2 separate regions of the Homo sapiens genome follow, and region 2 is linked to region 1. Evidence: promoter capture Hi-C in 16 types of primary human blood cells and fetal thymus (Javierre and others, 2016). All regions are on one chromosome and are shown on one strand. Each heading gives the region's core, a stretch centred on a gene start or on the middle of the fragment in contact. The rest is flanking DNA. Distances are from core to core; before and after follow the strand shown.

The links. Contacts are between HindIII fragments. The CHiCAGO score rates a contact against its expected background, and 5 or more counts as called.
Region 2: a fragment that was not itself captured here is called in contact with the fragment with the promoter of CDKL2 in region 1 in 1 of 17 cell types (activated CD4 T cells); the score reaches 5.6 in activated CD4 T cells.

What each region holds. Positions count from the first base shown.
Region 1 is chr4:75,627,626-75,632,434 of GRCh38, reverse strand. CDKL2 (cyclin dependent kinase like 2) reads left to right here and starts at 1,907. Exons shown (of 14, transcript NM_001330724.2): 1 at 1,907-2,393. The HindIII fragment of the contact is 1,829 bases long and covers 589-2,417 here.
Region 2 is chr4:76,216,086-76,220,894 of GRCh38, reverse strand. It overlaps a transcript of SCARB2 not described here and a transcript of FAM47E not described here. Among named protein-coding and RNA genes, the nearest start is that of SCARB2, 4.7 kb to the right of the region's middle. The HindIII fragment of the contact is 2,409 bases long and covers 1,476-3,884 here.

The DNA of each region.
Region 1 (4,809 bases), core at 658-3,157:
GCCTGGGCAACAGAGTGAGACTCCGCCTCAGAAGAAAAGAAAGAAAAAATAGTAACACAATCCTGTTTCTACATAATACCTTCTCTATTAACAATCCTGTAGATGGCCAGAATGTGTAAGTCTTTAATAACCTCTGTCCTCTACAACTGGCTTTCAAACTCAGTTCTTACTGAAATTGTTTTTTTTTGGTTTGTTTGTTTTCTTTTTTTCAGTCTCCCAAGTAGCTGGGAGTACAGGCGTTCACAACCATGCCCAGCTAATTTTTGTATTGTTAGTAGAGACAGGGTTTCACCATGTTGGCCTGGCTGGTATCAAACTCCTGACCTCAGGTGATCTGCCCGCCTTGGCCTCCCAAAGTGCTAGGATTACAGGCATGAGCCACCGCATCTGGCTGAAATTGTTTCCTAAAGCATCACTTGTTCGCCAAATCCAGTATTTTCAGTCTTTATCCTTTGGTTCCCTGTGAGATATAAATAGATTATTGAAGCTTCTAGGCCTCTTGCATGAAGGGGCCTTAAAATGTTATACGGTTGAATATGATTATAAAGTTGCAAAAGTAAAATAGTTTTGCGCTCTTGTTCTTAAGCTTCAGGCCCAACAAAACTGAATCTACCCCCATATAAAAGAAGTTCATCAGATTCTCTTATAGCCTATAGAGGTACCAAATGGGACAGGGCTTCTCGCAACTTGGACACAGCTAAGGACAGAGCTAATTGCTACACTAAGAGTCACATCTTGAATTGACCAAATAATTCTATTCTTTCCATAACTAGGCCTCAGGTCTGGTTCTCAATATTACAGGTTCAGGAACTAGATTTTAAGCAGTCTGACCAAGGTAATTAACCACTGGGAGATTAATGCAAACTAACCAAACTCACAAAAGACTATAAAAAGAATGTCTATTTCTTAATGTACAAGAAGGAATCAATACCTTAACATTAATGATTAATACCTTAATATTGACTAGGGTATATGGTAGACATTTGTCTATCCAGGACACTCTATTCCCTAAATCAAAGTAGTTTCGAGACCAAAATGATCATGAACATTTAGTTATCATGATTGAAAGTGTTATTTTACTGGCCTTATGGCCTCCTCGCTGCCTCAGATTCTTTGAAAATGGGGTAAGCTCTGTTCCTGTGTGATTTAAGCCTGTGCATGATTCTGACCTACCAGTCTTGCTCAGTCGTGGATTGAGCTGCATTTTTGCATTTAAGGCAAGTTTTATCGCAAGCCCTAACTCCACCCCATTTGGCTGCCATACGCGGGTGTTGTGCGTGTCCTCCAGATCCCCAGCCATCCCAGCGCTTTCCCATTCCACTCATGCCCTCTCTTCCCCTTCCTCCATCTCAGTGTTTTCCCTCACTTTCAATGGCCAGACTGGCCTTCCCAAGGTCCCTCCTAACGTCAGGTCTGTCATCACCTACCTTCTTCCACCTTGCCTCGCCTACTAATCATCACCTCCTAAACTGTCACCGTTATCTCCTACCTGGCTCACACTGGCCCCACCGCCCAGAACAGAAAGGAAGCATGGAATCCCGGTCAGGCCGCGCCTACGCGACTCAGGGCGCCCGGCGCCCGCCCCTGCCCCAGCGGCGATGCTATGAGGGAAACCGTATCGCATTTTGCATAGTCTTCGCAGTCCTACATAACCGCCACCTTTACCCTTCGCGTGGGCATCACAATCGCCTCCTCCCGCTGGGGAAGGCAGAAAGGCGCCTCCTGACGAGAACCAAGGCGTGTGGGGACGCAGGGCCTCTGCGTGTCAGGGAGCAGAACCTGGGCCGAGCCCTAGGTGAAGGGGCGGGGTGGTTGGCCCTGAGCCAATCATGGCTCGTGACGACTCGGCTCGGCCAATCAGAAGAAGGGAGGCCTGGCGCTCTCGGGGCGGGTGAGAAACCGCCCCCCCTTGCAGCTCCGCGGCCAACGCCTTCGCCCAGGGGTAGTTGGAGCGGTGCAGGTTCCCAGGCTCCAGGTACTGGGCGCCTTACGAGCTGGGAGGTGGTGCCTCTCACCCAGCTAATTGCTCTCTAGCCCTTGGCCTTCACAGGTGTTGGTGCCTGCCGTGAACGCATTCTGACCTGGGCCGTATCTGTCTCCCAAGACTTTGTGCCTATGGTTGGGGACAGAGTGAGGTCGTTGCCTTGACGACGACAGCATGCGGCCCGTGGTCCTCCTAAGTGTGAGCTTGCGGCGGACCGAGGCCCACCTGCCTCCCTGCCTGCTTCGCCCTGGACTCGTGACTGCGTCCGCAGAAGAAATCACAACAGCGCTGGAATTGCTAGTTTGCTAGGCAGCATCTTTTGGACCTGCGAACCATATGCATTTCACCTCAAATTTGTTTCCAAGTTGAAAACCTTTGGGTCTTTCTATGCGAACGGATTGAAGAAACGGTAAGTATAGTACGTTTTAAAGCTTCTATTATCTCGTTCTTTGATCTATAAAAGATTTCAATCTTTTTTTTTTTTTTTTTTTTTTTTTTTTTTTTTTTTTTTTGAGACGGAGTTTCACTCTTGTTGCCCAGGCTGGAGTGCAATGGCATGGTCTCGGCTCACCGCAACCTCTGCCTCCTGGGTTCAAGCGATTATCCTGCCTCAGCCTCCCAAGTAGCTGGGATTACAGGCATCACCACCACGCCCGGCTAAGTTTGTATTTTTAGTAGAGACAGGGTTTCTCCATGTTGGTTAGGCTGGTCTCGAACTCGCAACCTCAGGTGATCCGCCCGCCTCGGCCTCCCAAAGTGTTGGGATTACAGGCGTGAGCCACCGCTCCCGGCCCTTTAATCTGTCTTAAACAAAATAAAAAATTAGCATTCTCCAAATATTTTTATCAAAATTGTTGCTTTTAGAACCATCCAGAAATAACACCTTGCCCATTGGCCAGGTTTCTTTTTCGTTTGTATTACCTTTCCGTTCAAGAGTAGAAGGCATGAGAAGTTATAGTTTATGAGTAACTGTTTCAGGAAACAGGAGGCTTTGTAGGCTGTGATACTTTTAAAGTATTTGTGGACAGTGTCACTTGAAAAAGCAGGTGTGTTCAATGTGGTGTGTCCAGATATGCAATTGGTTGGGAGAATAAACTTGAAGCAGTCAACTTGCATTAATGTTAGCTTGGGATATGCTTCAGAACACCTCAGACATGCTTAAAGTCATTTTTTTTGGTTCACTTTGTGCTTTCAAATATTGAGGACATCAATTACAAAATGTTTTAAAATAATCCAGGTTATAGATTCAAGCTATTTTTGTCATTGGTATGATAAACCTAAAGCCTAGTGCTTAATAAAACATACTCTCTTAATGGAAGAGAAAAAAATTAAGAAGGGATAGAATTATATGGAGATTTTTTTTTTCAAATACAAACAGTTTATTAAAAAATAGTTAATGGAAGTGGAATAGAAGGTAAAATGTCAAATGCATGGAAAGTTAGTGTCTGGGACACTGCTCTGTAAAAAGTTTGTAGTAGAATCTACTATGAAAACTGGTAGTAAAATAATAATTTAAGTCGATGTTCATTGGTATTGTTTTCATTTCCCACCCCTCAAGATCAATCTTCTGGTTCTCCACATATAGCTACATTAAAAATATATATATTATAAAATCTCAAACTATTATATGTCAAGTGTGGAAAACGTATTGTATACATTGGATTAGCATAGTTTGCTAGAACAAAGAGAATATTTGTTTTGTCTTTGCATCACTGTTCCAATAGAGAAATAGGAAAAACAGTTCACGATCTGAGTAAATTTTAGATTGCCGTAAGTATACAATTAATACAACAGGCAAGAATTATTTCTTGTTAAAATCTATCTGTATTTGGACTGAAATAATTTTTTATCTATTATTACTGAAATAATAGATAGTTAAAATCTATCTGTATTTGGACTGAAATAATTTTTTTCTGTACGAAAGCATTTTGTCCAATGATTGCTGGACCTTCGTCAATCATTGGTAAAACAAGAAAGATTCTCTTAGGATTGCCTTTATTCAGAAAATGTCATATAATATGAGTAAAAAATTTCAAGGCCGGGCGCGGTGGCTCACGCCTGTAATCCCAGAACTTTCGGAGGCCGAGGCGGGCAGATCACGAGGTCAGGAGATCGATACAATCCTGGCTAACACGGTGAAACCCCGTCTCTACTAAAAATACAAAAAGTTAGCTGGGCGTGGTGGCAGGCGCCTGTAGTCCCAGCTACTCGAGAGGTTGAGGCAGGAGAATGGCGTGGACCCGGGAGGCGGAGTTTGCAGTGAGCCAAGATCGCGCCACTGCACTCCAGCCTGGGCGACAGAGCAAGACTCCGTCTCAAAAAAAAAAAAAAAATTTCAAACACAAATTCAAATTATACTTATAGTGAGTAATCATTAACAGGGTTTTTGAAATACTTTTACTGTACTTGGTACTACTAATATTTAATTTAATTTAATAATTACATTAAATTTAATAAAATTTAATTTAATTTTAAAAATCTGCTTATATACCGATGTCATTACTCTTATTTTCTAAGTTCAATATAGTAACAGTAACATGGCGAAACCCCGTCTCTACTAAAAGTACAAAAATTAGCTGGGCGTGGTAGCGGTGCCTGTAACCCTAGCTACTGGGGAGGCAGAAACAGGGAATCGCTTGAACCTGGGAGGCAGAGGTTGCAGTGAGCCGAGATCGCGCCAGTGCACGAGACTCCGTTTCAAAAAAAAAAAAAAAAAAAAGAAAAAAAAAGTAAAGAAAAATATTTTATGAAAGATGCTCTGTGTTAATTTGTTATGTGATCAAATATTTTTTCCAATTAAGTGGAAGGTGCATAAGTATTTCCAA
Region 2 (4,809 bases), core at 1,431-3,930, 590 kb before region 1:
GTCCCAGCTGATCCCAGGTGAGCACCTGGAAGCATTCTTGTACAATCTTGCTTCTTATGTAACAGAAAATGTACCTATGACTGGTTATCCCTTTTATTTCTCCCTGGGTAAAAAACTGCCAGAACTTTCTAGAATTCTTTTCCCATCACTGATTTTTAAAAAGATCATATTCTAAGAGGGACCATTACTCACATCAGAAATGGCAGATGAGAAAGAAAAGAAAAGAAGTCTGCACTGTAGTAGCATGTATCAGGACTTCATTCTTTCTTTAAGAGACAGGATCTAGCTCTGTCACAGGCTGGAGTACAGTGGCACAATCAGCTCACTGCAGCCTTGAACTCCTGGACTCGAGGAATCCTCCTATCTCACCTCATAAGTAAGCTGGGACTATAGGTGCATGCCACCGTGCCCATCTAATTTTTAATTTTTCTATAGAGATAGGGTCTTGCTATGATGCCCAGGCTAGTCTTGAACTCCTGGTCCCAAGCAATCCTCCTGCCTCAGTCTCCCAAAATACTGGTATTACAGGTATGAGCCACCACACCCAGCCTATTTCTTTCCTTTTTATAGCTGAATAGTATTTTCCACTGTATGTCTATAACATATTTTGTGTATCTATTATTGTCTGATGACATTTGGGTCGGTTCCACCTTTTGACTATTGTGAACAATGCTGCTATGAACACTGGTTTACAAGTATTTGTTTGAGTACCTGTCTTCAATTTTGGGGGTTATATACCTAGGAAGAGAGTTGCTAGGTCATATGATAATTCTGTTTAACTTTTTAAAGAACTGTGATTTGCATCTCTATCTCCTCTGGTTTGATTCAAAATGGAGGAAACAGTTCTGCTTAAGATAGCTTGCAGTGCAATTGAAGCAAACACTACTCATTAATATTCTGAAACGTTTTTCATTGACACTAAAAAGAAACAGTATTTATTTATGAAAGAACTGGAAATGCTTACAACTGTTGTAAAGTTAACTGAATAGCAGTCTTCTCTGAGGTTTGATGAGTATAGGAGGCTTCTAGGTAATCATTTCAGACTCTCAGGATATGTGGTGAGTGCAGTGGTTAGAAGTCATGCGGGGACCAGGTTAGTGGTGAGGGGCGGGGCTTATTTTTACCCTTTCCATAGTCTAATATCTAAGCCCCCCATTCCCCATTCCACTACTGCACCCCTATCTCTGGCCAAATATCTTCTCCCCACCACTCCAGGCTGACAAAGTCTGCCTCTACCCTCAGACAGTCCCCTCTTCACTCTCCATCCCCCCTTTCTCCCCTCAGAAAGAGATGCTGAGTAAACCTGGCTTTCTCGTTTATACAGCTTCTCCCCATGGAACACATCATTAAAGAATAACTGTGACCTCTCGTGTTGTTTATTTAGCCCTGATTTCACAACATGCAGGAAATCAGACAGCCTTGATATTTCACAATATGCTGGCTTTGCCACAGTGAGTTTAAACCCAACCCAAGCTTCATTTGCTTCTAGAAAGTACCATCAAAGTACCTCAAGTGAGAACAGACTAGAATACATTTCACGTCAGAATATACATTAGATATATTGCAAAGTATATTTTTGGCCACCGGACTGGCAACTCCTTCCTGGCTCTCCATTCTAGTTCAACATCAGGTTCAGGCAGAGGCATTGTCTCCCACACACACTAATTCCAACCTGTGCCCCTCCTGGATGCCCAGGTCACCATGAGTATTCCAGTGCCATTGCTTATTTTTATTTTTATTTTTTGCAATTTTCACTGCTTTCCTTTTACTCTTAATAAGCATGAGGCCAGAAGTCCCAAGCAGTGGCTAAGGGGTTAAGAGCCTGGCTAAAGCATCTGACTGACTTGGATTTAGTAATACCTTTGCTTCCTACTGGCCAGTAACATTGGACTACTTAGTCAATCTCTGTGTGCCTCAGTTTCCTTATCCTTAAAATAGAATGTCTACATCATAGGGCATTGTAAGGAGTAAATGAAGTAATGCAAGCCCACTGTCTAGCATAGTGCTTGTACAAGTACTATGTACAAGTAGCAGATAATATTGCTGACATATTCACCCTTTTTGCCCACTATATTTTTCTCCTCTTTGATCTCCTGACTCCTCGCCCTCCAACCACACATTCTATTAGTTAGACAACACTACGCTTGTGTTTTCAGGAAAGGGAAGAGAAAAAGGTGAATAGGATATCTCCTCCTAGTTCCGTGTTTCAATAAGTCTGCATTATTAGGGGAACAAAAAGGAAAATAAGAATTTGAAGAGGGGAATTCTCATTTTCCCATAACCCCAAACAAAATAAAAACCAAACCAAACCAAAACAAACTGGAAAAGATTCCCCTAGTTGGGGGTGCAAAGATGATAATGAGGAAGCCATGAGGTCTTCTTGATCGGAGGAGGCGGTAGACAGGGACATGGGTAACTTCACAGAGAGTCCCTGTGGCCTGGCACAGGTGCATGTGATATAATATAAATGGTATATGAGCTCTCCTCTGGGATATGTAAGCCTATCTGCATAAAGCAGTTCTGTAATGTAAGAACTTTGGAATGATGGGTAGGGGAGGAGGGAGGAGAGAGTAATTTTTTCTTATGGAGGCTGTATTGCTCAGGATTTAGGATGCCCCACAAACATTTAGGAATAACATATGTCAAATCACTAGGGTGTGATGGTACATTTTATAGATCACCTTCAATAAGAAGAAAGCCAAGACTTTTAGAAGTATCTTGGAGCCTGACCTGTCCCAAAGTAGGCAAGGCCTAGGGCCATTTCCATTCAAACTCCTGGGATCAAGTGATTCTCCTGCCTTGGCTTCCCAAAATGCTGGGATTACAGGCATGAGCCACCTGGCCCGGCCTGTGGTGTATTTTAAATGTTTATATTTAACACATTAACACTTTGAACATAAAAGTATACAATGACTACATCATTAAACTCATTTGAGTATAGTATCAACATTCTAAATTTAAGGTAGAGCCCAAAGAGCCCTCTTGCTTCCCCTCGATAGCCCTTAGAGTCTGTGAAGAAAGCTCTTTTTCTAAGTCCCGAATGATTGCATAATTTCAACAGGCACCAGCAATCATTCATTAAGTGTACTTGTTCTTCTCAGATAAAGTCTTCTGATTTTAGGTATAGAGAGATCACCGTATCTCCTTGCCACAGCATCAGTCTCCTCATTTTCCGCCCTTGTCTGTTTGTGTTGCTATAACAATACCTGAGATTGGGTAGTGAAAAGAGGTTTATTTGGCTCATGGTTCTGCAGGCTGGACAAGACGCACGGCACAGACATCTGCATTGGATGAGGGCCTCAGGCTGCTTCCACTCCTGGGAAGGCAGAAAGGGAGCACACCTGTGTGAGGCACATGGGCAGAGAGGAAGCTAGAGAGAGAAGGAGGAGGTGCCAGCTCTTTTCAACAACCCGCTCTCTGACAACTCACTCATGCCTGAGGGAGGCATTAATCTATTCATGAACAATCTCTCCTCAGGACCCAAACACCTCCCATTAGGCCCCACCTCCAACACTGGGGATCAAATTTCAACATGAGATTTGGAGGGAACACAAATCCAAACCATAGCAGAGAAGTCACCAGGAAGAGTCCTGATTGTCTCCCTGCCCTGGCATCAGCCTCCTCATCTAAACTCTGGGAGCAGTAACCCCTTCCCAAGCTGTCTGCCCCTCCAGAGTGTGTTCAGGGTTATTAGTGGCTGGCAAGCAGGGGCTACTCCCTGGATGAGAGGGCAAAGTCTCTCATAGGGTGAGATGATCCTGTGGCAATAAACTAACAATGCCAATTAGCGGTGCAGACATGTCCTATAGATCAGAAATGAGGAGGAAGTCCCAAAGGGCATTGAGAAACTTAAATCTGGATTTTGGGGCTTTGTGTCAAAAGCTTCTGAACATAGCTGTGGGTAGAGAAGATGGAACTGAACAGAAAGACAGCCAGGCCAGCTGCTAAAAAGTTATGCCAGCCTCGGTGATAAGACAGAGATTACTGTGGGATCACAGACTGCTATTTTGGGAACATACATTATTTTCTTAAAAGCTGTTTATATTTTCTGTAATTAGGTCCTTTTTGTTCTGTCTTATGTTAACACATTTAAAAATGCTAGCCTGGTCAGCTGTGTTAAGAAGAACCAAGAAAGAGATTTTCATTCGGCTTGTCCAGAGTTTTAAAGGGGAAGTGGCTTACTAACCGCCTGACATAGTGGAAACAGAGTGAGATCCTCAGAGAGCAGGTAAACTGAGGGCAACTTGAGCTGTAAACCCTTGTTTAGAAACTCTCCCACACTAAGATACATTTATCAAATTTGTCTCCATCTCTCCATCCCCACAGTCTGTTACTGTCCTGGTGGCCCAGACAAGAGAGAAGAAGGGACCTCAATGAACAATGAAAAGGAAGAGTACCCTGGGATTGGTGGTCCAGGGATGGGAGGAGTGGGTACCTATGGAGTTTGCCCTCCAGAATGGAGCCCGCAAACAGAAAATCTGATTGTAGCAGTCAGAGAGTAGGGGGTGGAAGTTCAGTGTGAGCATGAACTTCTGAGTGCCAAAGTACCTAGGCAGGCAAGTTACCAAATTTTTTTTTCTAGTTAGGGAAGGAGAGGACATATAGATGACAGGAGGACTTCAACCAATGCCTAGGTAGGGGACATGTGAGGGTTAGTGGGCTAGCATTGCTCCTTAAGCAAACTGGGGCACAGAGCAGAGTTAATGTAGCTAACTGAAACTTAACAGCAGAGAAGAGGCAGGATTAGGGGAAGAGAAAGGCTGCCGATTGTGGACACCTGAGGACTGGAGACCACCCACCCATCAGGCT